Regions from separate parts of the Homo sapiens genome. Here regions 1, 2 and 4 are each linked to region 3. The links are contacts of gene promoters, found by promoter capture Hi-C in blood cells and fetal thymus (Javierre and others, 2016). All regions are on one chromosome and are shown on one strand. The core of a region is centred on a gene start or on the middle of the fragment in contact, and the rest is flanking DNA. Distances in the headings are between cores, read along the strand shown.

Region 1 (6,888 bases), core at 1,041-3,540, 4.4 Mb after region 3:
CACAGTTGCACTCCAAACTCCCCAAATTATGTCTGCCATCACTGTCTGGTAGTTGGTGCTCAGTAAATATTTGTTGATGGCATTAATGAATGAATACCTCATTGCATCCTTATAGGAAGTTTCCACATCATTTGGGTCATATTTATTGAAATTCTGTGCAGTTTTCTCTCAGGACAGGAAACGAGAATTCTAAGAATAGAACCCGAAGAACTATTGAAAGGGTCAGTGGACAAAGAGGAAACTTTGCTCTGTTAGGAAATATCAGATCACTTATAGCAAGGATCTTTCCCCTAATCTCTCTCGATGGTTTGTGTCAACAGGAAAGTGGCTAGAGAAGTCAAGATGTTTCTTTATTTTTTAAGTTCTGTATTAAAATATAGCCCTTGGATGTGTTTCACATTTTGGCCACGTGGCAGAGCTATGTAACTCACCTCAATGTCTCAGAAAGATGCAAATGCAGCAACTGGCGGCCCAGCCCTAGCCGTAACACAGACTGTAAGTGGGGCTCATGGCCACTTTTTCTCCTTTTCTCTGCTGTGCTTCTCTCATTGCACTTCTCGCTAACTGTTGAGCCAAGCTATGATGTTATCTGGAGGCCTGTCTTATCCCTACCACAGAGTGGGGGGTAGGTGGGGTGTTCCAGAGTTTTCATGTGGGAGGCACTTGGCAGCAACTTTCATGTTAAAAGCTAGGCCTGAAAGCTCCAATCTTGAAGTGACATATGCCAAGCATGCTTTTCACTTTGGTTAGATGTAAATCATTTATTTATTACTTCACCAAATATTTATTAAACCTACTATGTGCCAGAATATGGGGATTTCACAATAAAAGTGGCTATTATTAATATGTTGCCTCTTAGCTCCAAATTCATCCTCATTGCCTGCCTAGTGAAACTGAATCTGAGCCCTTTAAATATTTTCCAGCTGTTAAAAAAGCTAGGTCAATAGAAGGCGCTGGAGAGACATTGCAGGAGGAAAGGGTTTGGTTTCCTGGTTCCTGGCTCTGGTTGCATACTGGGCAGGTTCCTACAGCACAGGTAGCAAGCAGCAGCACCCAGCAGCCAGCAGCTTCCTCCAGAAGCCCCTTAGGTGGCTTTGGAGCAAGTGCCTCTAATGAGTCACCTCCCTCAGCAGCTTTCCTTGGAACCCCAGAGAATGGATTTCCAACGAGTTCTGGAATGTGGATTTCTAGCAAGTTCCAGAAGGCAGAATTCTAGCAGGGCTCTCCTGCTATTCAGAAAGTTACAACTGTGCCCTCTCCAGCAAAGTCTGGATCTCAGCCAGCCCTAAGAGTGTGTCTGTGTCTTGGAGGAGCTCTTTTTGAGATGCTGTATCTCAGCCCTAGGGTTAGTAAGTAGCTGTTCCTTATATCTCTATTTCTGTATTATTTAGAGCTCTCTTTACCTCTTACCAATCTCCCTTTGATCCAATTCCCTGTTATAGGTAATAATTTTTTATATTGAACTTTCCTTGTTGAAATTACTGTTTTTCTCTCTTGATCGGATCCCGATTGATACAGTAAACAACATAAGCAAAGTGTCTTTCTTGCTGGAGCTTACATTCTGATGGGGGGAGATAGACAAACAGTTGCATAATATGAAGGAGTGACAGGAGTAGTAGAACTAGTTCAGATGGGAGTTCATAGAAGCCTTCTTGGAGGAGGTGACATTTAAGCAGAAGCCTGAATGCCTAGAAAGAGTCAGCCAAAGCAAAAATCACTGAGAAGCAAATTTCAGGTGGATTCAAAAGCCTCATTTGAGGAAGTGTTGGTGAATGTGAGCATTTTTTAAAGACTGGTACATGCTAGACACAGAGTAATATAAGATTAGGTCATGGCTACATCACTGGGTTCTGGTCACATTGAACTTCTTATGCCTAATAAAAGCTTTCATTTTCTACTCTGATTATAATAGCCATTGTGGAGGGAGAAAGGCTCGTAAGCAGGGAGTGACAAGATCATTACAAATATCAACTTGGTATAAGGTGCCCACGTTCATACTTGACCTAAGATTAAGAAAGTACCCTTTGTCATATTAAAGAATTATCAATTGTTTTTAATTGGGGGCAGCTGATAAAGAGTACAGAAGCACATATGCTGCCCTTCCCACACACATCCTTTGGTACTGCCACTACCTCACCCCCACTAATGAGTGATGGGTCCATTTTAATTTGGAAAGAGGATGCCTATGCAAGTTTGAATGTCAAGCTCTGCATTGAATATATAGCTAGAACAGCAATGATCATAGAGAATCAAGGACATGCACATCCATTTCTAGATCTGCAATTGACTTGCTCAGAAACCATCCTCCCATCTATGTTAAGATAGAGAGAACTGGACAGAAAACTCATTATTGAAAAAGATTCAGGACATCAATGCTAAAGAGAGTGACAAATTTCTTAACTTGTCTGGTTAGGTAGAGGTTTGTTGCCAGCTGCCTCAATGTTTAGTGGTGAAGACTGCCAAGCTATCTTTGTGTTGGGATGTCCCTTCTTATCTTGATGGATAAAAGGAATGTAGGTACCCGTTGCCTTTTTGTGGGGAGGGAACTTGGCTTGGGAGTGCAGTGGACAAATTTGCATAGGTACTAAGGAGGCTTCTGGGACAAAATAACTGTCCTTATTGAAACGCTACATTATTTGAATGCTTTGAGATTATCCCTAATTAAGTCTGCAGGCAAGAAGGAGCACTGAAGCTTTCTCTTCCCTCCCGGAGATTATGGTGCAGACACAGTGGTGTATGTGGGAGGGGCTATCTAGAACGCAGCTGAAGTCAACAGGAGAATGGACCAGTGACCCAAATTCACTAGCTGCAATACAGAGGCAGGAAGTATGGATCTTTCTCATTCGGAAATAACTCTTTATTGAAGATACAAATCTCCTTTTGGATTAGACATCCTGGCATTAATGGGGTGCTTCGGGATAAATAGCTGAGTGTGTGAGGAAGATAAGGCTGCATAGCACTTTTATAGGCACACCTTATGTCAACAATGGAGCTGAGGGAGACCCTGACTTCTTGCTAGTCTGAACAGTTGTCTTGAATAGTTAAAAAGAGCTGTGAACTTATTTATACTCTATAACAGAGATCATATCTAAGAAATACACTACTAAAAATGACTCCCTTACTTGAGGAACGCTCACATTGTCTTTAATTTTCTAGAATCTAGAAGGGATCTTTAACAGCTGCTTCTGTTTCATTCCCCTGCCTTTAAGCAAACAAGATATTATTATCCCCACTTTAAAGATTAATCAACTGAGGCTCAGAAATAAGTCACTTGCCCAAGGTTATATGGCTTGTAAGTACTGAAGCAGAGATCAGAACTCTTGTCTCCTACCTCCTGATTTAATACCTTGCATAAACCTGAATTCCACAAATGAGTATTCAATTAAAGTATGTAATTTGAGCACTATCCAACTCACCTGCCTGGTTTACTCCTTTTCAAGCAGATGTTTTATTGCAAAAATGGGGGCAGAGGGTGAATCAGGGAGATGACTGTGTTGCAGCTGCCACTGTGCAAAGGCTGAAACTGAGAATTACCATGGCTGCAGGAAGCATGGCTCACTCCCTTCAGCCTCCGACCTCAGAGTGTCTGAAGGCTCAGTAAGGAAGTTCCAAAGAGATGCACAGTGCTGAAGCCCTAGTCCTTTTACTTTCAACTAACAGCAGGGTTCACACCTATGCAGCTGCTCTTGCCGTGCCTTTCCACAGGCTCCCACTCTTGCTAACTATCACAACAGCCTATAGGGCAGACATTACAGGAGAAAATCTGCGCATTTCCTTTCTGAAATGAGTGGTGCGGGAATGGGGTAGGTGTAGGAAAGTGTAAGTAAACATCTTACTGCTTTGTACAAGAAAATAATTCATAAGAGTCTAGTATTATTTTTATTTATTTATTTTTTGAGATGGGGTCTCACTCTGTTTGCTCAGGCTGGAGTCCAGTGGCGTGATCTCAGCTCACCGCAACCTCCACCTCCCTGGCTCAAGCGATTTTCCCATCTCAGCCTCCCAGATAGCTGGGACTGCAGGTGCAGGCCACCACACCTGGCTAATTTTTTGTATTTTTGGTAGAGATGAGATTTCACCATGTTGCCCATGCTGGTCTCTAACTCCTGAGCTCAAGCCATCTAACCACCTCAGCCTCCCAAAGCTCTGGTATTACAGACATGAGCCACCACGCTTGGCTGGAAAGTCTAGTATTATTTTCATTAGAACTGGGGGTCAATTCACGGTCTACCATGATCTGGCTAACTTTGGGTAACCCCTTTAACCTTTCTGGTCTCATCTATGTTGTGTTTTATCCTTAAGGGAGGTAAGTATGATCTCTAAACCCCTTTCCCCTAAATGCAAACATTTGCTGCTCTAAAAAATGTTGTATTTTATCATCTCAGAGTTGGTCATATGGAATGGATTTTGAATTAGGATCATCTGCTGAGGTTGATTATATTTTCCTTACCCCTTTTTAATACTTCTGAAAAAATTATCTCTTGCAATGAAGATTATTTGGGGGAAAGTGGCTGCAGACGCATTTGTTGAAAATTGATTAGTTGTCTCATAAAATGATCTAAACTGTAAGGAACTATATTCTTAATGCTACTATGTGGGCTCCTACTGCTATAATTCAATTCAGGACTTGTCCTCAATATTATGTAGCCCGGAACAATTCTGGTAAATCACATGACTTCCTTTAATAGCAATCCTTGTAAAATAGTGTGAGTGAGCCATCATTCACAGTGTAATATCTAGTCCAGTGCACTACTACTTTTCAAAAAGACAATGATATTCTGAGAAATTTTCATTCATGGGGACACCCTCTGCTTCTGCTCCTTGCTTTTATATAGAACAAAATTTGAATGCTTTTATTATAGGTTTTTATTAAATATGTCTGCAAGAAAGACCATTTGATACCTTATTTTTATATGAACCCCGAGTGTTTACATAGTGTTGTTACATATTATTACCTCTGGTACTATGTAAAGGTACCAGCAGAGAAGCAGAATGGGTATTATAATCCCCATTTTACAGACTAGGAAACTAGGTTCACAGAAACCAATGGCCTCTTGAAGATTATACAAGTAGTAAAGCAAACAAGTTGGGAATCAAACTTGACTTTTCAAATTCCACTTTTTTTCTATTCTACTAGAGCTGACTTTTTTTTTTTTTTTTTTTTTTTAGACAAAGTCTCCCTTTGTCACCCAGGCTGGCATGCAATGGTGGGATCTCAGCTGCAACCTCTGCCTCCCAGGTTCAAGCAATTTTCGTGTCTCAGCCACCTGAGTAGCTGGGATTACAGGCGTGACCACCAGGCCTGGCTAACTTTTATATCTTTGATAGAGACGGGGTTTTGCTATGTTGACCAGGCTGGTCTAGAACTCCTGACCTCAAGTGATCCACCTCCCTCAGCCTCCCAAAGTGCTGGGATTACAGGTGAGAGCCAGGGCGCCCAGCCTAGAGCTGCCTTTTAATGCCTTACAATGATTATTATGCTTTGTGCTTTACAAAGTGCTTCCACATGCCTTTTCCTTCCTTCCAAAACCTTGTTGGATGGGGAGAGCAGGTGGTGGTGTGACCATCTTAAAAATTTGAAAACTGTAACTCGGAGAACAGTGACTGGCCTGGCTCAGAGTTGGTGTGTATGTATCAATACAGGTACACACCAACTCTACAATCTAAGTGTGTATGTATAGAAAGGTGTTATCAGTATAACCCATATGTCAGGAAATGGATGCCCTCATCTCCAGCCTCTGCTGGATTCCTTGTTTTTATAGCTTTAGACAAGAATGACTCACCATCAACCCAAGTACAATAAGAAGTTCAACATCCTTCTCAGTAGCTCCAGGGATTGCTGTGGGAGTACCTCTGTTTCTCTGTCATTTCTTGTTTCTGATGAAAGCTTGATCTCCCTTCTATGCCCCCTGCTCATCTGTCCATTTTCCACACCAGACTACCCTTTGGGACATCCCGTACTCTTCTGAAGTACCGTGACCCAAGCCATGTGTGAATGCCTTTACTGAAGTTTTGGGGGATGGAGGGAGTTAATGAGTCAGACGGGCACACACTGAAAGTGGAATAACAACCATCCCCATCCCTTGGTTATATCTGCCCCTTTGAAATGCTCAGTAGCAGAGGCCACTCAGTCACCATTCAGTCTAGCAATTCTCCTTCCCTCATCTACTCTCACCTCATAGAAAATCTATGATTAGCATGATTGGCATACTTTTCCCCCGTACAGCTGCTACTGTGTAGTGTTTTTATAGCTTAGGGTAGATTTCTGAATCTGACTAATTTTTGCAACATCTATATGAAAGAGAGAAATGCAAAAATAACTCGCCATTCCCAATTTGTAATCCAGACTGAGGCACCTTTTATAATTTTTCCAGTGAGAAATTAAAGAGAAATTACAGTTTTTAAAAGGAAAGTCATTCTGAAAATAATCTTATAATCTCCAGGAATGACTTTCATCAAGGACTTAAAAGCAATAAAGAACTTTTTCCTTTATAAGGTTAAGAAATTTGGTCCTTATGCTTTCTTGAAAGGAAACAGTTTATTTTTAAATCCTTAGAGGAACTTATATTCTTTGAAATTTTTAACATGTGATTAATCATTCGGAAAATTATTTATTATGATCGCAATTTTCATATATAAATATATTTTCATAAGACATTGAAAATGTGAATGAATTGTCAGATATTTATTGCAAATTAAATTTGGAAACATTTTTATAACATTTACATTGCTGGCCAGCAATCCTTCTCTAACAACTTGCTCTGAAAACAGTAAACATGTGAATCATGTTGTAAAAATTAGATTCAGAGATCTCCTCTAACCTATAAAAACTATAATAATGGCCAGGTGCGGTGGCTTACACCTGTAATCCCAGCACTTTGGGAGGCC
Region 2 (6,941 bases), core at 3,926-6,425, 4.4 Mb after region 3:
AAAGAAGAAGAAGAAGAAAGAAGAAAGAAGAAGAAGCAGAAGGAAGAAGAAGAAGAAGAAGAGGAAGAAGAAGAAGAAGAAGAAGAAGAAGAAGAGGAAGAGGAAGAGGAAGAAGAAGAAGAAGAAGAAAGAAGAAAGAAGAAAGAAGAAGAAAGAAGAAAGAAGAAAGAAGAAGAAGAAGAAGAAACTCTCTTCCACACTCCTACAAACGTCAAATAGTTCCTAAAACACATGCCCACAAAAGGCTGCCTGGCAAAGTCCACTGTGGTATACAGAAGATGTGGAAAGAATCCTTGAGGTTCTTGGAAGGATTATAAATTTGGCAGGAGAGATGAAAGTAAGGTGATGAACGAAAGCAAAAGAAGCAACAAACTCATTCATTCCCTCCTCCTCTTCCTTCTTTCACTCCCTCCTTCCTAGGTACCACACCTGGCAGCATTATCAACACCAAGTTCTCCCCTTCTAAAGTATCTTTTTCTATCAATGAATGGTACCATGACTCTGTCCCTCTGCAGACATCAATGTCTTAGGGCCTTTCCTCCTATGCATTTCCATACTCCTCACCCAATGAAATGTCAAGTCATAGGGATTCCTCCTTTCCAGTTCTACTTCCCTAGTTCAGACTTCACTTCCTCCACCCTGTCCCTCTCCAGTCACGCCCCTCTCCACTCAAATCGTTTCAACAACATTCACTGACATTTGTTCTCAGGCCTCATGCTAGCTGCTGAACAAATTAGCAAAACAGATATGGTCCCTTGACCAACTACTGATTAATCTCCCCTTTGCTTTCTTTTTATAGCCCAAGCACTACCACCAGCATTCAAGGCCTTCTATAATGCATCCCAAACCTATATTCCCAATTATTCTCTCCTCTACCACTCAATAAAGCTGGAAACACTAAACACAGCCTGAATATGCACAGCAGTTTCCAGTCTCTGTGGCTTCCACTTGGAATCCTACCCTTTCCTTTCAACCTGCCTAAGTGCTCCCCATCCTCTGAGGTCTCACTAAACTGTGCCCACCTCCTCCGTAACAGCATCCTTAATCACTCAAGGAGCCAGAAAGACCCCCTTCTCTTCCACCTATGTCACAACTGTGTATCCACTGCACTGCTTTATATTTTTTACAGTGGTCCAAATGAAGTAAAAAGACTAGATTCTCCATGGAGGCAAGCCTCCTACCTTTCCTAACTGCTAGCCCTCAAAGCAACCTGCACATAGTATGAGGTTAATTAACATTAGCTGGATGAAAGAATAAGAGCCTTTGCATTCCCTCTGAGGTGACCAGGACTACTGGCTCTTAACCAAGTAACCCTCCCAATGAAAGAATAAAACAATCTCATGAAGATTAAGTTACTTTTTTCATGTTTAAGTATTTAGGTTATAATCTTCTTAACCTTTATAATAAATCCAGTTCCAGGTATTTCCATTTGAGAAGCTAAATATTTCAGTTTAGAAAGTTAATTTGCACGGTGAGCCTCAAACAGAAAGAAAGTGGCAAAAAAGCATGATTCAAAATGTAAAATCAAGTATCTTAAGAAAGTGGGATTTGTAAATCTAATCTGGGAAGAAGGCATAAATACCACCTCACAAGTGTGCATCCTAAACTGATGCAAAATAACCTAAAAATTATTGCTTAGATTATAAAAAAACCCTCCTATCAGCTCTGCTTACAACTAAAGCAGGTCTTTACTATGAGCCTCCTAGGCTAGCCATATGGAGCCTTTGGAAATGAGCTCCCATATTACAAAAGGAAGGTTTTTGTACATAATGTACTTTGCCTGCCGCAGCCTCTCCTAAATCTGACACCTCTGAAATATAAGGAGAAAACTTACAAGCAGCCTCTCCTAAATCTGACACCTCTGAAATGTAAAGAGAAAACTTACAAGCAAGTAGGGGTGCCAAAGTTTACCTCCCCATGCCCAGAACCTAGAGAAGAGTGGAAGCTTAAGAAGCACACATTGGAATTTTGGGGACACAATTTCTTCATTAAGAAGCCCAAACAAGTGTTTTGTCTTCCCCTAGCTCACCCAAAAAATGTTCAAGCAAACAAGCAGCTACAGAACTGCTATTGTTTTTTCACTAGCCACTTTAGGTTGACTATATTTTGGGGGGGTTAACCAAGCTAGCCAGAGGTAAAACCACATTTCCAAACAGTTCTCTGTCCCCCGCAAAATCAAAAGCCTTTAAAACAGCCACCCACATTCATAGCGCAGCATAGTGAAATTTGTTGGGGGAAAAGAAGTCCAAGTAAAACAGGTTCACTGATCAGCGCCCACACATTCAAAAATAAAAACGAACCCATATTGTGGACTCAGGTTACTTACAAAACTCAAGGTTCCATTTTGTGTATTACAGTGTGATCAGGACATGACAAAGACAAATATAATGTACTTTGCCCTAAAGAGAAAGAGCAGAAGGGCTACTTTGCAATAAGATCTGCCCTAATGCCTCAGTTGGGTAGAATCAGGCCAGAAACGTCACGTTGAATTCTCAGGCAGCCCGGTCTATCATATACATCTTGGTACCAACCAGACTGGTGTCTCAGGAGAATGGTTAAAATGACTGAGAATGCCCAGCATGGACAAAGGAAGGCTAATAAAGGGCAACACTTCTGAAAAACCTAGACAAGGAGTAAGACTAATTCTAGTGACTTCGATGGGGGACAGGACTAATGGGTCTCACATAAAGAAATTTCTGCCAATCCAATACCTCCACTGAAAATGTCTTCTGCCTTGCGCAGTAGTAGCACCACAAAGATCTGGATGTTTTCAGTGGAAATCAAGCTGATTTCCAGTGAGAAGCTGAACTTAAGTGTGAAAAGTCCCTCCCACCGAGAAGGTTTATCACGGTCCCTTCTTTAGGAAAAGGAAGATTACAAAGGATCATGTAATATCTCTATTCAGAACTTAACTACCACCAACCCCACTCTGCTTATCATCATGGGAAAGGGAGGAAAAAACCTGAAAAGGTTAAGTACGTTTAAAGGATTCTCTCAAATTGACTTAACTAGAGAAGCCAGACAATGCTCATACTTGGCCTTTCTCTACTCAAAGAGGTCATTATGCCCCAAACCTATAACTCTCCGGGCCATAAAAAGGCAACAGAATTTAATAGTATTTTCTTCTCTCTGGAGCAGAGTTTCTGAGTGTTGGCACTACTGAAATTCTAGGCCAGCTAAGTCTTTGTTGTAGAGGGCTGTCCTGTACATGCAGATGTTCAGCAGCATCCCAGACTCTACCCACTACATGCCAGTAGCAACTCCAAGTTGTGACAACCCCAAATATCATCACATTGCCAGACATCCTCTGAGGAAAGGAACTGCTCCAGTTTGCAACCACTGCTCTAGCACAGTACCTCCCTAATTCTTTTGTTTGGGTTCCAGTTTCCTCATTGAACCAGTAAGGGCTATGGATTCTGCCCCCACAAAAAAGGTACACAATTATGCATATAAATTCCAGAACTATATAGAACCTTTCAAACCCAGCCAAGAACCTCCATCTCTCCTCCACCCCAGGCAGGCACTCAAAAGTTTACAGTTCCCTGAACATTCCCATGTGACACGTGGTTATAAAAGAAGGTGCCATGCCTGTTTTAGAAATCTCACAGTCAGAGGTACAAAAATATCTAGAGGCCTGTGGTTATCCAGCCACGGACAAACAGTAGAATCTGTGATAAAAGATGAACCAATGAATGAGTCCACTAATCTAGTGTGTTAATTTGCAAAACAAAATACCCAAATGATACCAGCTATTATTTTTAACATTTAAGCTCACTGTGTACAGAACACAGAAGCAGACGATTTGTTTTTTCATTTAGAAAACAAGGATAGGCCGGGCGCGGTGGCTCACACCTGTAATCCCAGCATTTTGGGAGGCCGAGGTGGGTGGGATCACGAGGCCAAGAGATCAAGCCCATCCTGGCCAACATGGTGAAACCCCGTCTCTACTAAAAATACAAAAAAGTTAGCTGCGAGTGGTGGTGTGGGCCTGTAATCCCAGCTACTCAGGAGGCTCAGGCAGGAGAATCACTTGAACCCAGGAGGCGGAGATCACAATGAGCCGAGATCACGCCACCGCACTCCAGCCTGGCAACAGGGCGAGACTCTATCTCAAAACACACACACACACACACACACACACACGCAAGGATAAACAAAGAAGTTTACCATAGTCACTTATGAGACATTTATTGCCAGTGGTTCAAAACCAGAATGTAGGTTCTCAAGCCAGAATGCCTGGCCTTGACACCCCTACTCTGTAACCTACCAGCTATATATAACCCTGGGCAAATTTCTCAGCTTCTCTTTACCTTAGTTTCCTCATACACAATAAGGATAATCAGATCCCTTCCTCAAAAGATTACAAATTAAACAAATTAATACATCTGAAGCATTTAGTGCTTTACCTGGTATCCAGTGGGCACTCGATAAATTTTAACTGCTCTTATTATCACTAACACTTGCCCAAGATATACATATGAAAAATCTGTTAACTATATGTACTTACTGATGTGCTCTTAGCCTATAGAAGGACCAGGAAGATGCAGCTACAACTGCAAAAAAAGCAACACAGCAGATGGTTCTAGGTTGTGAAACACTGGCAATATTAGGATTGTTTTAGCTGTCCACACAATAGCCTAACATTGCTCAAAGTGAGATTCTACAAAAATACAAACACAAAAACAAAAAAAAACCTGGCTGTATTTCCTCTTATAAAAATTATCTTAAAACTTAACTTACTAAAATGGCATGCCTATAGTACCGAGCAATGGAAGTAGGGATGAATTTTATTTTTAAGCTGGTCATTTAAACATCATATGATGTTAAGAGTTGAAAGATATCTTAGAAATAAATCATCTGGCAAAGTATGAATCCAATTCTAAATTTTAAAAATGCCAATCAGCAGCTCAAGGACCTGTAGCAGACTGAGATAAGAACTCCCACTCTCTGATTGCCTATCTAGGCCTTTTTTGCTCAGCATAAAGCCAGGCCCTCCCTAAGCACTCAGAAACGAAGACAGCTTATATAAAGGTGGCTGATACTCAGAATATGTGATGCTACATGAAATGCAATAAAATGAAAAAATTAAACCACTCCTTTAGCTGTTCCATCATTCATTCATTCATTTCTTCTACTATATTCCAGGCATTGTTTTAGGTGCTAGTGGTACCAGCAGTGAACAAAACATATTCTTCTGTAAACAAAAATATAGTCAGAATGAATAAGGTATAGTGTTTGATAGCATAACAGAGTGACTACAGTCAACAATAATTTATTGTACATTTAAAAGTAACTAAAAGAGTATAACTAGAAAGTTTCTAACCCACACAAAAAAAGGGAAATGCTTGAGTTGATGGGTAGTCCATTTACCCGAATGTGATTATTATATGCTATATGCCGGTATCAAAATAGTTCATTTACCCCATAAATACATACACCTACTATGTACTCTTAAAAATTAAAAATAAAAAAATTTTTTAAAACCAAAACCACATTCTTCCTTTTTGGAACTACACTTTAATGAAGGAACTTGATCTCTACTGTGTCTTTGATTTATAAACTCCAAAAGGCCAAGATTAAACATTTCTCCCTTCTTCTACTTATGATTAAGTCATTTATTTACAATGAATTTATCTTCCCTAAGGAAAGGGTCCTTGATGGGACAAAGCAAGAAAGTCCTGAGGACTTGAGATGTCAAGCTCACTGTAAGCCACAGTTTACAGACACGCTTTACCTCAAGCTAGAGAAACTGACACCTACCTTAGATTCTAGAAGAGTAACCCCCGGAGCTAATTACACAACAGGTAATAAACTGCTACATAGTCCCTTTGCACATCTTTGGAAGAAAATTATTGGATCACTTTATAATTCATACAATTTCAGAAGTCACACAATTTTCTTTTCTTTTTTTTTTTTTGTGACAGAGTCTTGCTCTGACGTCAGGCTGGAGTGCAGTGGCGCGATCTTGGCTCACCGCAACTTCTGACTCCCTGGTTCAAGTGATTCTCCTGCCTCAGCCCCCCGAGTAGCTGGGATTACAGTCATGCGCCACCACGCCCAGTTAATTTTTAGTAGAGACAGCGTTTCACCACATTGGCCAGGACAGTCTCGATCTCCTGACCTCATGATCCACCCACCTCAGCCTCCCAAAGTGCTGGGATTACAGGCGTAAGCCACGTGCCCAGCCTAAGTTTTCTAATATATGCCAAAGGAAAAGTACAAAAACTAATCACTTTAAAGACATACTGATATATTTTATGTTATATATACTTTTATATTACATGTTTTATGAAAATTGCTCTACTTCTGTGTCAACATTACTTTAGCCTGAACGCTGGCCATAAGAGAATCAGTGAATTGTAAACCACCTACTAATTAAGTGAAGAACTTTGTCATCTAACATCTGCGTCTCACTGTGTTCATCCACAGGACGGGGGGAATGCTTTATTATTGGGGTTTACATGAAAAAAAAGGATGAGAAAGTACCTTATAAAAAATAAAGTATTAATAGTATATAAATATACATTTCTACTCCTAGGCACATTGGGTAACTTTGGATTTTAAAAATTCTGAAAATAAGTGCTAAAAGAGACTTTCTAAGACTGAAAAAAAAAAATTCAATTTCTGTTCACTGGATCACAGCAACAAACCAAACTGAAATGGTCATTTTAACCAAAAGAGCTAAAAGAGATCTGGGCGTTCACTTACGCCCTAAGTTAAAGATGAGAAAAGCATGGCCCTTAAAGGTACGGTACTCAGCAATATCACAAAGCTGGTGACTAGCAAGGCCAGAACTAGAATCTGAGGCTCCGGAATCAGTCAAGCATTTGGGGGAAGGTAGTAAGTATGCTGATGGTGGAGTATTCCAAACATATCAACTGGAATAAGGCAGAAATATCTGTCATACCAGCGTTCTGACCTTGAGTCAAACCCAAGATCTA
Region 3 (6,997 bases), core at 3,465-5,964:
ACTGTCCAAGAAAATAATAATAAATTTGGAAAACTGTCTTTTAAATTATACAGTAAGATATGTTCGGGCTGGGTGCGGTGGCTCACAGCTGTAATTCCAGCACTTTGGGAGGCTGAGGCAGGTGGATCACCTGAGGTCAGGAGTTCAAGACCAGCCTGACCAACATGGAGAAGCCCGTCTCTACTAAAAATACAAAAAAATTAGCTGAGCCTGGTGGCGCATGCCTGTAATCCCAGCTACTAGGGAGGCTGAGACAGAAGAATCGTTTGAACCAAGGAGGCAGAGGTTGCAGTGAGCCGAGATTGTGCCATTGCACTACAGCCTGGGCAACAAGAACGAAACTTTGTCTCAAAAGAAAAGAAAAAAAGATGTTCAAAACTGGTAATCCCAGCACTTTGGTAGGCCAAGGCGGGTGGATCACCTGAGGTCAGGAGATCCAGACCAGCCTGACCAACATGGAGAAACCCCATCTCTACTAAAAATACAAAAAAATTAGCCGAGCTTGGTAGCACATGCCTGTAATCCCAGCTACTCGGGAGGCTGAGGCAGGAGAATCGTTTGAACCCAGGAAGCAGAGGTTGCAGTGAGCCGAGATTGCGCCACTGCACTCCAGCATAGGCAACAAGAACGAAACTCAGTCTCAAAAAAAAAAAAAAGGTATGTTCATACCATATTATCCACTTCTTTTACTTTCCAGAATTAAGGACATAATCATAAATAAGGACAAAGAAAAGCCATATATTTAAGGAGATAATATCCCCGGTACTGTGATTTGATCTTTACAAATTAAGTGAATATATTAAATTATCACATATACCCCAAAACTATGTACATCTTTTATGCATCAATAAGTAACAAAATAAATAAAGACAAAGATTTATGTGGCAGAGAGTTTACCACTGAGTTTTTATATTTTGAAAAAAACAAAATGTTCAAAATGGGAAAAAAAGTTAAATACATAGCACTACCACCATGAAATGAAAAGCTATGAAATCTTTAAAGAAACCATTTTTAAGAATTATTTAATGACAAAGAAATACATTCACATTTTGTTGGGAAAAAGAACACATATAAAATTACATACAGCTTAATCCCCATTAATTTTATAATCAGGAAAAAACATTTTTAAGAAAGCTGATTAGCATTGTATGAATGATAAACTTGGCTGACCACACTAATCTGCATTCTAGATCTGTACTGCCAGGAACTGAACAAAAGAAAATAAAGTGGGAAAATTTTATCACCTACCACGAAGGTCTAGGCATATTTGATTTACAGATTAATTTTCAGTCAGCCTCATATATTCCAATTTTTTTTTAATAAAAAGCGAGGCAGGAGTGTCATCCTTTTGGACCTTACGTGTGTCATTCTGACAATAGCTGAGACTTAAAAGCACTAACGAATATTTAAATCTACTCCACAGTTCCATTATCTTCATCTAAACAATAAAGGTAAGTCTACATTTTAATTCATTGAGGATGAGTTCAAGGTAATCCTGGAATTTTTGAGAAGATACTCCGAAAATTAGGGAGGAAAAATTTATACCGTATATGACTGAAATTAGAAGAAGTAATCAGAGGAGATTTTTATGGATCCTCCATAACCTAAAGTAAGGAAAAGACAGAAAGAGAATCTGGAACCCCATTTTGCTATGTGACCTTGGATATGTTCCTTAGCTTCTCTTAGTGCTAGTTCATTCGTTCACAAAACAAAGATAACTAACAACTTGCTCAAAGAACTCTAAAAAGTATTAAACTGCCAGCACAACGTTTAGCACACAGTGGGGAACTCAGGAAATAGTAGTTATAAATACTATTTTAAACAATAATGCAGCTGGATAGTGTACATTCTCAATTATATTAGCCCATCTAAAGTAAATCCCCCATCTAAGTAATATTGGGTCTAAATTCACTGAGTCCAAAGTGATCACTACACCATTACACCATTGTACCAATTACACAAGACTGGAGTCAATGAATGTATTGTTAAGTTCTTGAATGAACACAGGTATAAAATTATTGGGTTGAAAAGTCTTAATTTCAAACAGAGAATAAAAGGATGGAGAAAAAAGACTTTCCTGTTATTTAAAGAGCAAACCTAAAAATTAAAAAGACGTAAAGAAGAAATCAAATGGGGGGAAAAATAGCAACCATCCCACAATGGCATCTAGAGGGGATGAATAATTTACACCAGTCGGGGTCCAGTCTGGACAATGAAACTGGGAGGAAGAGGTTTTTTTTTTTGTTTTTGTTTTTGTTTTTGAGACAGGGTCTCGCTCTGTCGCCCAGGCTGGAGTGCAGTGGCGCGATCTCGGCTCACTGCAAGATCAGCCTTCCGGGTTCACGCCATTCTCCTGCCTCGGCCTCCTGAGTAGCTGGGACTACAGGCTCCTGCAACCACACCCGGCTAATTTTTTTTTTTGTCTTTTTAGTAGAGACGGGGTTTCACAATGTTAGCCAGGATGGTCTCGATCTCCTGACCTTGTGGTCCGCCCGCCTCGGCCTCCCAAAGTGCTGGGATTACAGGCGTGAGCCACCGTGCCCGGCCGGAAGAGGTTCTTATATAGGGCTGCTTACTTGTGATTCCCACTCATCATTCCTTATCAAGAAAATGATGACTGCAACATAAATCCTAATTTGAAAGAAAGCACAGCATCATCATTACCGTACCGCTATTTGTGCATATTAGTGTCAGTGACATGTCTCAGGTTTTAAATGACAAACTCAATTAAATGTTGCAAATACTAACTGGCGGATTAAATCTCTATAATCCAAGTATCCTAAGCCCCTACATAAACTCATCAGTTTTGAATATTTAATAAAATTCTGAACTTTGTGTTTTAGAACTGAAATGCGAGTTAAGTTTTACCTACCCAACAAGACTATACACTCTTCATGGTGGGGACCATTTAAAAAATTATATTATCACTTAAAGAGAACTTTTATAAATTCCACAATCCCGGACATTATGTTCTAACAGCATGTGTTAACGTATCCTCCCAGAATGTAAATACTGGTGTTTGTCATGAAATCCTCAGTGCGCCCTAACAAGAGTTTTCCTCTAATCAGTCAAGTAAAAGATGCTGGGTGGATGCAATCATGGCCATTTAAAAGAATGCTGGTATATATGTTTTGCAAATTACCCAAGAAGGAAACATTATAACAGGAATGAATCAGCACAAATTCATCAACACTAAAATATATGCATGTATTCGGCCAATGGTGGATTTCGCTTTATGTGCAGATTATGACACCTTTATGCTTCAAAATGAGTTTGGGATTGTGGGCGGAGGCTGGAAGGTTGACGAGTAAGGATGTGGAAAGCGGGTACTACCAGGGCTGGAGATTTCCCAGGGCTGTCACCGATTGAAAGTGACCTTATGTGCCTTAACAAAGGAAGTCATGAAAGCTTGGCACAGGAGCCTTAAAAGTAAGGAACCGAATACAATGCAAGTGTGCGCTGAACCCGCTAGAACAGGAGCACGTTTGAGGGCAAGGGTTTTTGTCTGTTTTCATCACTGCCACAAGGCAGGCGCTTTGAATGGAACGTGGAGGTCTGCAACGTATTCAGCGATACGCATTCATTTTAGGAGACAAGGGCAATACATATTGCCTAAAAATTTTATCGGAATAAACTACAGCGACGACACTACAAAATACTTCCATCTCAGGTCCCATTACCCAAGAGGAAAGTCTCAGAACCGAGAGCCCTGTGAAACCGCCTGTGCCCTCTCGGCGAGAAGTTCTCCAGTACTCCCAGGCTCGCCCCGCGTTTCCCCGGCTCCCGCCCCGGCGCAAGGCAGGCCGAGAACCGCCAGCTGCGCCCCCGGGCCCGGCCTTGACTGACGGGCGCCCCGGACCATTACAAACAACGGGTTTCCGAAGCGTGGGCCCGGCCCAGCGGACGCAGACGGCCCGCACTTACCGCGCCGCAGCTCGTCCCACAGCCCACAGACCACAGCCCGGGGCGGGGTAAGGGGCTTCGGGCACGAGTGTGGGCTGTGAAAACACGGGCATAAGTCTGGGCCGAGCACCGACCTGGGCGTCCCGCATTTTCCTCGCGCAACATCGGTCCCTGGGCAGCGCAACTGTAAGGACAGGAACCGCCGCGGCGCGCTCCCAGTTCCTTTTTTACCTCTTCCCGCCCGATTTGCCGCGCGCTCGCGCCCCTCCTCCAACCCCAAAGGACTCCTTCGGGGCTGGAAAACGCCCCTTCCCCGCCCCCTCCCTGTGCGCGTGAACTAGGCAGTTGTTAGATCTCGCGAGAGGTTCGCCCCCTAGCCGCCCCTCCCCCCAGCTAGTGAGTGCGCGAACGAGAAAGGAGGAGGGCGCTCCAGGCGACAGCACTGCAGACGCCATTATCCTCTGTTTCTCTGCTGCACCGACCTCGACGTCTTGCCTGTGTCCCACTTGTTCGCGGCCTATAGGTAATTGGAGTTATTGGAGCTTGGGTATTGCTGATTCGGGTAAGGGTTGGGGCTCCCTGAAAGGCTGCGTTTACTTTTCCCAAGCCCGGGTTTTCTCGAGCCCTTAGTGGCCTCCCAGCCCGAAGGGAGGCGCTGGCGGGAGGCGGGGTTGTCGCCTCCTCCGTCGCCTTGATTGACGTGGCCTCGGGCCAATCGCTTCGCCCTCGCACCATCGCTGAAGCCCTGGCAGCCAATAGGGCGCGACGGCGGGGAGGACGCGAGAAGGCGGGGGAGGGGAGCCTGCGCTCGTTTTCTGTCTAGCTCCGACCGGCTGAGGCGGCGCGGCAGCGGAGGGACGGCAGTCTCGCGCGGTGAGGAGCCGGGTTGGGGGAGCGGCTCGTGGAGGTGAGGGTCGGAGCCCAGTTTTTCCGCTTGAGGGAGGCGTCCTGGGAGCCGCTTTGGTGTTTGGCCGCTTCTCCGAGTGGGAACGTTGCCCGGTGTCCCCTCCCCCACCTCCGCCATTTCCCTGAGCGTGTATCCGCAGTCCGCGTTGTGGTCCTAGAGACTTGGGGATTCGTGAGGCATGTGCCTCTAGGATGAGCTGGAGCTATGTGGCACTGGGAACTAGGGACCTCGTGGAGGAAAGGAGGCCGGTGCGGGGAGAAGGTCGCGCCGCCGCTCTCTTTGTGTGAGCCCCGCCTCACCTTGGGTCTCCCGGCCCGGGGTCGGAGCTGGAGCGGCGGGGATGGAACGGTCAGGGCTGCCTCGATGGCTTTGTCTCGGGCAGTGGGGGGAGGATGCGGGGGATGAGACCTCGGGACCGCGTGGTGGGTGGGGGAGGGGGTCGGCGCTCGGCTCCGCCTAGTAGCACGTAGTCGCCATTACGCGGGCCGCCATTTCCTGTCGGATCCGGGTGAGGAGAGGTGCGGTGCTTCTGCTGTCGACTTTCGCTTTTTCCCGTCCTGTTACCCGGCTGTTTTTGATCTCGGTGCCGGGAGGCGGGGAGGGGAGGGCGCGTTGGCGCTCGGCCAGTGGAGCACATACTTAGCGGATTTTTGAGGCCTGGGGACTAGTGACTGCAGGACCCGAAGGGTGAACGGCAAGCGGCAACGTTATTCTTACAGATAAGCCCTGCTGTTTTTGCTTAAACTTTCTTATCCAACTCTTCTCCCACCACACCTCAGAAATTGCGTGCTGGGCCGGAAGGATGTCGTTTCAGTTGTCGTTAGGAGAGCAATAAGTCGACCAACGGTATGGGAGAATGGGAGGCATAAATGTGCCTCGCTTGTTGGCTCTTTGCTGTCTAGCCAACCTTCTAGTAGAGGCCGCTTGTCAACTCCTAGTCCCGACAAGAGGGAAGCTTAAAAAGGCTGTTTGTAGTCCTATCGACCGTTTTGGCACGTAGACACTTTAGTTTTCGTGTTACAGGCATGATTGTTGTGTTGTACTCCCTTAAGCCTAATTTAAAATAATCCGCTAGTGACTGTTAGTTTTCAAGGGCTCCATTTGTTTCGCTGATTAATAATAGACTGGTATTGTGGTAGTTTGGGTCTGGTCCTATATTAGATTTTTGGATTTATCCCTCCGGTAGATTGTTCTGGTTGTTGGATGTGTTCGCAATTGCCGTTGTATTTGTAAACTTTAGAGATGTCACATAAGATCGCTTCAAGCATGAGTCGAAAGAAATAGGAAAGCAATTGGAAGTTTTAATATAAAATTAGTTTTCCCAGTGAATAAGATGCATTGTAACTTTTCATAAATGTATGCTTTGTGGATGACATTTATCTTTTCAGGGTTTTGGGAATGTGCCGTATAAAACAATTCATTGCTGTGGTGGGACTTAATCCAGTGGCTAAAAGTTATTGTTCTAACTTAGCAAAAAATGAAACCAGGCTCCCTTGAATTTTGTATTTTTTAGGCAGTCATTTGAATTGTGAAACCCTAAAATGAAGAATCAAGTTTTAGAAACAGCTGGTTTTTTGGGTTCAAATCAGTATTCACTGTGATCGGAAACAAATATTCAGTAATAAGAATAAACAAAAGCAAAACTGATTTGTGTTGGTTCTTATAGGCTACTGCAGCACTGGGGTGTCAGTTGTTGGTCCGACCCAGAACGCTTCAGTTCTGCTCTGCAAGGATATATAATAACTGGTACGTTCTAGAAGCAATGTCTTTTTTTTTTTTTTTTTTTTACAGCTTGCTTTCCAATAAGCCAAATGTACTAGCTGCTTTATTTTTCCACAGATTGGTGTGCCCGTTTAATAAAAGAATATGGAAACTGAACAGCCAGAAGAAACCTTCCCTAACACTGAAACCAATGGTGAATTTGGTGAGAAGAAATTTTAGTTTTAACAGTATTTTTTTATCCTGTTAATAAATTGCCTTTTTCTGTTAATTATTGCCTTAGGAGTGTGTGGTGAATTTTTGGTATTACTGTTTATGTAATTCTGCGATTATCAGTAGTTACATCTTAGCTTTTATTTATGAAGTAGAAGTAACTGATTTGCATATAAAGAATTTTTCTTGCATTTTGGGATTTCAAATCCTTTGAAGTATTTTGTGGCAGTATTTTGTGTTTGGTGCATTTTACTA
Region 4 (6,245 bases), core at 3,161-5,660, 4.4 Mb after region 3:
GGTCTATAAGCCATATCCCAAAATTGCCAATGGAAACAAAAACATAGATTTTTAGCTAGTTCAAGGCCCTGGGTTCACTTTTAATTTTCATTTTTTCTTCTATAAGGACATTAGAGAGGAAGATAATCAATTCACATTCTTCCCAAATGCAATGATTAGAAAAGGGAGGGAGGGCTGGTTCTAGCTCCTCCCAAGAGGAGACAGAGCTCCACTGCTGCTACTGTAGTTAATCCCACTAGTCAACGGCAGTAGGTGCTTATTGTGTGCTAAGCTACCTGGGTATAATCCCAAGTAATCTTCACAGACATTGGATGTGTTTCACGCTATGATTAACTTCATCATACAGATGAGGAAACTGAGGCTTAGAGAGGCACATCACTTGCTAAAGGTCACCCAGCTTAGCCCAGTTAGAGTAAACCACACGATTTGTAATAGGGAGGCCAGGACCCAGATCCAACTGTCATCATCCTGGCATCTCTTGTTTATGGAACTGCCAACTCAGAGTTGATATTTATAGTTCTTCCCCTGCAAATGAGACCGAAATAGGGAAAGAAAAGAGCTTCCCGTTTACCACCTTGAGATGGCTTTTTGAAGAATAAATTTGAGTCTTATCCATTCCTAAAAGCTAAAAAGTGAAGTGAGAGAAAAGAACAGCTTGGGACAGATGAGGGTTCACAAGGTTTTTCTAAATTCTGATATTGAGAATCCTGTGAAATTCTATGAACTCCAAGTGATGAGTACTCACTTTTAATGACAAGAGTTGGCAATATCTTTGTCAAATGCCTGTAACGCTGGAAGCAGTTGTACGTGAGTGCAACAGCACATTATTAAAGTATATATTGGCTTTAATATTTTTAAATGTTTTAGTAAACTCTAATAGGAAAATATTTTTCTGTGATTTTCATATACAGACACACTTCAAGTACTTCTGAACACAATTATACAACTCATTTCTAAAAAGAAAAAGTCTTGAAGTTAAAGCTAAATTTAATAGTTATCATTCAGTACTATATAGTTTTTTTAAGTTTAAAAAAATGCGGTAAACCAGACGCAAGCAATATTAAGCAGGTATATTAATCAACACATGGGGGCTAAATTAAAAAGAGACTTCATCTAACAGTATGTAAATATACCCCTTGTTCCTGTCAAACTCCAAAAAGCCTGACTTCAGATGCTCACAATCGCTCCAGCCAATGTTCTGTTAGCTTATGCACTACTCTTCAGGAATTGTTTTGCTTTTTCCTAAATACGATCATTTAATTTTTAAATAAAAACATTTTAAAATAAATTCTAATGCAGCAGCTGCCGTTTTGGTAGCGAGACTGTCACACAGAGAGCCGGTGTTAAAAGATCAGATTAAGAGCCTTCAGTCCTGGCACAGTGATGCTCACAGCCATGCAAGAGTGATTTTCCATGCCTCTGAAGAGACAGGAAACAGAATTCATCTTCCTCTACTAACCTGCTCCTCCCCTCCCTCCAGATTATGGTCCATCTGGCTTCAGGGCAGAAGCAAGGAGTCCAATGCTCACAGAATGCACAGAAGAAGAAACAAGGTGGACGATGTTCAGATAAAAAACATCAGAGATGCCCTGATTTGAAGGAAACAAACATGTTTGTGTCTCACACAATAAAAGATACACACATACCTTAGGAAACTAGAAAAAGATGAGTAAATTAAATCTAAAGTAAGCAAAAGAAAATATATACACAGAACTAGCATTTAGAAAACCATGGCATAGATCACGGGTGTCCAATCTTTTGGCTTCCCTGGGCCACACTGGAAGAAGAAATCACACACACATCCCATTTTATGTGGGCTACACATAAAATACACTAACGATAACTGATGAGCTTAAAAAAAATTGCAAAGAAAAATCTCATACTGTTTTAAGAAAGTTTAAAATTTGTGTTGGGCCACTTTCAAAGCTATCCTGGGCCACATGTGGCCCACAGGCCCTGGGGTTGCACAAGCTTGGCATAAATCATTATACGTGAGTCAAGGATTTCAACCAAGAAATGTCAAAGTATTTGGGAAATAAATAGTTAAGTGGTATGACAACAGTTAAGTATGACACCTTTCTTCCCAGACTAGAGCAAATGAGTTGTCAGTATCTCCCCATGGCTTTCACCTACAGGTACAACTTCCTTAGACAATTAATTTCAGTCCAGTCTTGCTCAGCACCACTACCATTATACATTCTGTTCCCACTGGGCCTGCTCACACAAACAACATAATTCATGTGGGAAAACAACTCATTGGCAAATCAGCTTCATCAACATCCCCAAGACAACCTTCTACTTCTGAACACAACCCACAGATCCTGCAGAAATGTGATGAGACCAAAGCCATACCAGCGATCATATACAGGGGTCTGTGCCTACAGAGGCCCAAAGTCTAATACCACCCCAGGGATAATTCGAACTTTTCCCTGTCACCTTAGAACATGACACCCCAGCCTGGTTACAGCTCTGTAGGTCACACATTCTTCCCATTCTCCATCTCCATAAAGCAGAGCTGCTTAAAGTAAAAAATACACACTAGTCTGGATCAGGCAGGGGGCAGTCAGGTTTCCAAAAGAAATGCAGATACACCCCTTGACTCTCATTCACCAAGCCATCTAATCTAGCCATAAGCAAATCCTAAGTAAAAACAGGCAAATGGGGACATGACTGGTGGTAGGTTTTGTGGTCACAGCTAAAGGAGGAGAAAAGACAACATACCCTTTGTTTATCAAGACCCAAAAGAGCATGTGAATTCAGAGTGTCAACAAGATTTGTGAATATGAGTGCCCCCTCCCCAGTATATACCTATGAAGGGTACCCATAGTTACTCAAGTCTAACCCAGTCCAGACCAAAGAAAAAAATCATATACAGCAATCTGCATATCTATAATACACATGCAGGCTCAAATATTGGCCACATAACATTGGCACATGCCCGCTGGCAAGCAGGTGAATGAACCTCTCTCCTGAAAAGCAGTGACACAACACACTTATAGAACAACTGAAAGGGTAGGAAGAAAAGTGCCTCTGTGCCTTCTCAGCCCACAGCACAAAGTATTGCGGCTACAAGACATGCAGATATTTCATTAGCTCCTTCCTTCTTAGAGTGGATCTTACCTGAGCAAATGAAGGCATTCAGTAATCCAGAAGCAAAAAATTATCTTTTTCCAGTATTCTCACTTCAACTTTGTAACTACCAAAAGTAAGCAGGGAGAGAAAAAAAAACCACAAGGAAGCCAACAAGCACTAGAAATGCATCGCTTTATTCCAACCTGTGCCTGTTTGCTGATGGCATGCACTTCCCCTGTAGGTGAGCAAGAGAACTAGTGAGCCGCATGCCAGGCCTTAGCAATGTGCTAAGCCTACCATCACCAAAGCCTAATTTTGAGAAAAGTGGCACTCAGAGAAACGAGTTCAATGAGTTCATCTTGCAGGTCTTTTCCCAAAAGCACAATAATATAAAGACTTAATCAGGAAACAAGAAGTAAATGTTTAAAAGTAGCTAGCCAAAAGCTTCATTAGTTTGTTTACTACAAAAAGTCTTTCCATTTGATATGTCTTCTGCCAATTCTTAATGCCCAATGACAATAGTACAGAGTAAGCTCCTGTTTTCCTGGCAATTTTTCAGTCTACCCTATTAGGTACCATTATGACAAACAAGCATAATTCTGAGCAACACGACAAAGATAGCAAAATATTTTAACGACTGAATTTTGCTTAGCCCAACTAGAAAATATTCCATTATGTAAACACATATAAATTATATCCCACAGAAAGTTACTAAGGTATACAAGTTGGAGTGAGAACACTGTTTCTTAGAAATGAAAATAAAATACAAACACCAAGAGACTGGCAAGGCCAGAGAGTCAGTTCTACAATCCCTTTTCTGCAAAACCACTAAAATGGCAACTTCTAGTCCAGTGCCTAAAATCAACTACCTTACCTCTTGGGACAGGAAAGGAATGACTTGTGCACAGATAGCATTCAGCCTCTTGACAATCTCTGCCTGCAAAAAATAAGGGAAAGGAAAGCAATAAAGAGAACAGTCAGCTGGTTACAGATTCCCCAAATATTAACAGGATGATATTAAAACATACTTTATAATTTGGCTGGCATATTTCCTAAGGAAGAGGAAAACTATCTCATCAGTAAGCCCATTAAAAGGAAGCAGTGACAACAGTGCCACATTAACAGCACAATTTATTAACCAGCATTCATCTTAAAAAGTTAACCTTCAAGCATCAGGGCAATATAAAATGGAATTTAATTTCCATGACTGGAAATCAGTTTTCAACAGCCTTCACCAGGACCCTTGCTCATACTAATGTTTTCCATAAAACCTGCAGTCTTCTAAGTCTTAAGAATTTAGATAAGTAAAGATACATTCTTTCCTACATCTCAACTCCATCAATTAGCAAATCATTGGATTTCTATATTTGTGGCCTTTGCTTTAAAAACATTGGTGCTGTGATTTTAAACTCAAGACCCTAAACTTCTGAAACAGCAGCACCCAAACAACCCAAAAAAGTTGGCTAATTCGGATTCTTACAAATTCTTGGAGAACAAAATGTTTTCTTCAACCATAAAAATTTCCAAATGTGTCCTACCAAGGTTTTCAGTGTGCAGAGGTTGAGATATGCTAAAATCTTATTACACTTAGCAGGAAGCAATCTGTATGTATCTGGAAACTATCCTTGGGAACTTTTTTTTTTTTTTTTTTTTTTTACTGTGGATATGCAAAAGTCCCAACAATGTCAAAGAACAGTCTATTCTCTAATAATTTTTATAAGTACAGACATTTTAAACCAATAAGATGCTACAGTAAGTTAAAAGAAAAACCACCACTACATGTTTTCTTTAAAAAGTTACTCACAGTTTTACCAATGTTTATCTTAATTTGTATTTTTCAGATGGTGCCTTGTATATTTTGTGATGTATAAATACACAGTTTTTTTTAATACACGTACATACAAAATAGTTTATATTTTAATGATGGAATGGAGGAAAGAGAGCTAAGAAGAATTGAAAGGCAGAAAATGTAAAGCAATTACTATCCCTAAGACATTCTTAAATTCCATCCAGGGTCAGTTCCTCATTTTATGTGAGGCCCAAAATGCCTTTTCTTGCCAAGTCATTACCAGAATGACAGTGACACTCTACTTGTGCAATCTAGGCTTCCTTCTTTCATCAGCAACCCTTCTAACTGTGTAGCTATGCAATCTTTTAAATGCCAGCACCTTAAAAACTTTACCAGCCAAAAGAAAACACAAATTCACCATGAAGTTTCAAATCCAAGCTTTCCATTCCAGCCTGCATTCCTAACAGTATGGACAAAAACCCAGCACCAATAAGCTGCAGTGAATAAGGACCCAACTGTGCTGACCTGATTTAATTTACTGCACTGGCCCCATGGAGCATTTAGCCATCCTTTAAGAATGCTTAAGCCACCATGAAGAGCTGCAATGGGAATCACCAAACCACTCTCCACCTGGACGAACATACCACAGTGGTTATGGGGTGAAATTCCAGGGTGAGCAATAAAAATAGAGTAGCATTCACCAGGCTGAAAGTACAGCATCTCAAATGCATTTGGTTGTTAAGCTTTTTGCAGGGAGAGGTGGAGGGGGAGAGAATAAAAGATAATGAGACACTTTGGGGCAGACCAAACTGATGATTCTAATGCTTAGAACCATCTGCCAAGCATATTTTCGTCATTATGTTGTTTACATAAATAAAATAGTCCCTTGCTAGGAGGGCTGAAAAATGTGTGGGCACATAAGAAAACTGAGTTCTTTAGTTCGCCTACATAATCTAGGCAATAAAAACGACTCTAAGGAAACTTATTCATCTGGTGAAATAAAATTTTGGACCTAGGCTGTATTAAGTCTGAGCAACTATTTTTTAAAAAAATTCTACATTTTCTTAAAAATAAATGTAAAAAGGAGAAGAGCCTTTTTATTCAATCACATAGGTTAACACACACACAACAGAAACGGGAGGGCAGAAACCTTCCAAACTTCCGTTAAAGATCTCCTTTTGTTTAAAAGACTTCTTAATTTCTTTAAGTTGTCATGCCAATGGATTTTCATGGTCAGGCTAATTGGCAGTGGGGGGGTGGGGTGTGTGTGTGATTTCATAAAATTAAGCAGGTCATTCTTCACTTTGAAATCTAAAGTTGCCTCGGAAACACTGCTGCTCCCATGGTCATCTAATTTCGCCTCTTTTGTCCCACAGGACCCAGC

The links. Contacts are between HindIII fragments. The CHiCAGO score rates a contact against its expected background, and 5 or more counts as called.
Region 1: a fragment that was not itself captured here is called in contact with the fragment with the promoter of HNRNPK in region 3 in 7 of 17 cell types (naive CD4 T cells, fetal thymus, naive CD8 T cells and 4 more); the score reaches 11.0 in naive CD4 T cells.
Region 2: a fragment that was not itself captured here is called in contact with the fragment with the promoter of HNRNPK in region 3 in 2 of 17 cell types (activated CD4 T cells and total CD4 T cells); the score reaches 5.8 in activated CD4 T cells.
Region 4: a fragment that was not itself captured here is called in contact with the fragment with the promoter of HNRNPK in region 3 in 1 of 17 cell types (activated CD4 T cells); the score reaches 5.8 in activated CD4 T cells.

The regions. Positions count from the first base shown.
Region 1 is chr9:79,562,089-79,568,976 of GRCh38, reverse strand. LNCARSR (lncRNA regulator of Akt signaling associated with HCC and RCC) reads left to right here and starts at 1,025. Exons shown (of 3, transcript NR_184113.1): 1 at 1,025-1,345. The HindIII fragment of the contact is 808 bases long and covers 1,887-2,694 here.
Region 2 is chr9:79,585,338-79,592,278 of GRCh38, reverse strand. All of the region lies in intron 4 of TLE4 (TLE family member 4, transcriptional corepressor), which reads right to left. Among named protein-coding and RNA genes, the nearest start is that of TLE4, 17 kb to the right of the region's middle. The HindIII fragment of the contact is 6,456 bases long and covers 1,948-6,941 here.
Region 3 is chr9:83,977,932-83,984,928 of GRCh38, reverse strand. It overlaps HNRNPK (heterogeneous nuclear ribonucleoprotein K), which reads left to right and starts at 4,714. Exons shown (of 17, transcript NM_031263.4): 1 at 4,714-4,776; 2 at 6,477-6,556; 3 at 6,650-6,734. The coding sequence starts at 6,677. It overlaps RMI1 (RecQ mediated genome instability 1), which reads right to left and starts at 4,124. Exons shown (of 3, transcript NM_001358291.2): 1 at 4,038-4,124. RefSeq lists silencers at 3,711-3,790, 4,601-4,740 and enhancers at 3,435-3,943, 4,001-4,090, 4,111-4,180, 4,311-4,370, 3,944-4,451 and 2 more. The HindIII fragment of the contact is 2,357 bases long and covers 3,411-5,767 here.
Region 4 is chr9:79,610,420-79,616,664 of GRCh38, reverse strand. TLE4 (TLE family member 4, transcriptional corepressor) reads right to left here. Exons shown (of 20, transcript NM_007005.6): 5 at 3,947-4,009. It overlaps LOC124902329 (a long non-coding RNA gene), which reads right to left and starts at 3,940. Exons shown (of 2, transcript XR_007061903.1): 1 at 3,121-3,940; 2 at 1-1,589. RefSeq lists an enhancer at 4,823-6,245. The HindIII fragment of the contact is 1,783 bases long and covers 3,519-5,301 here.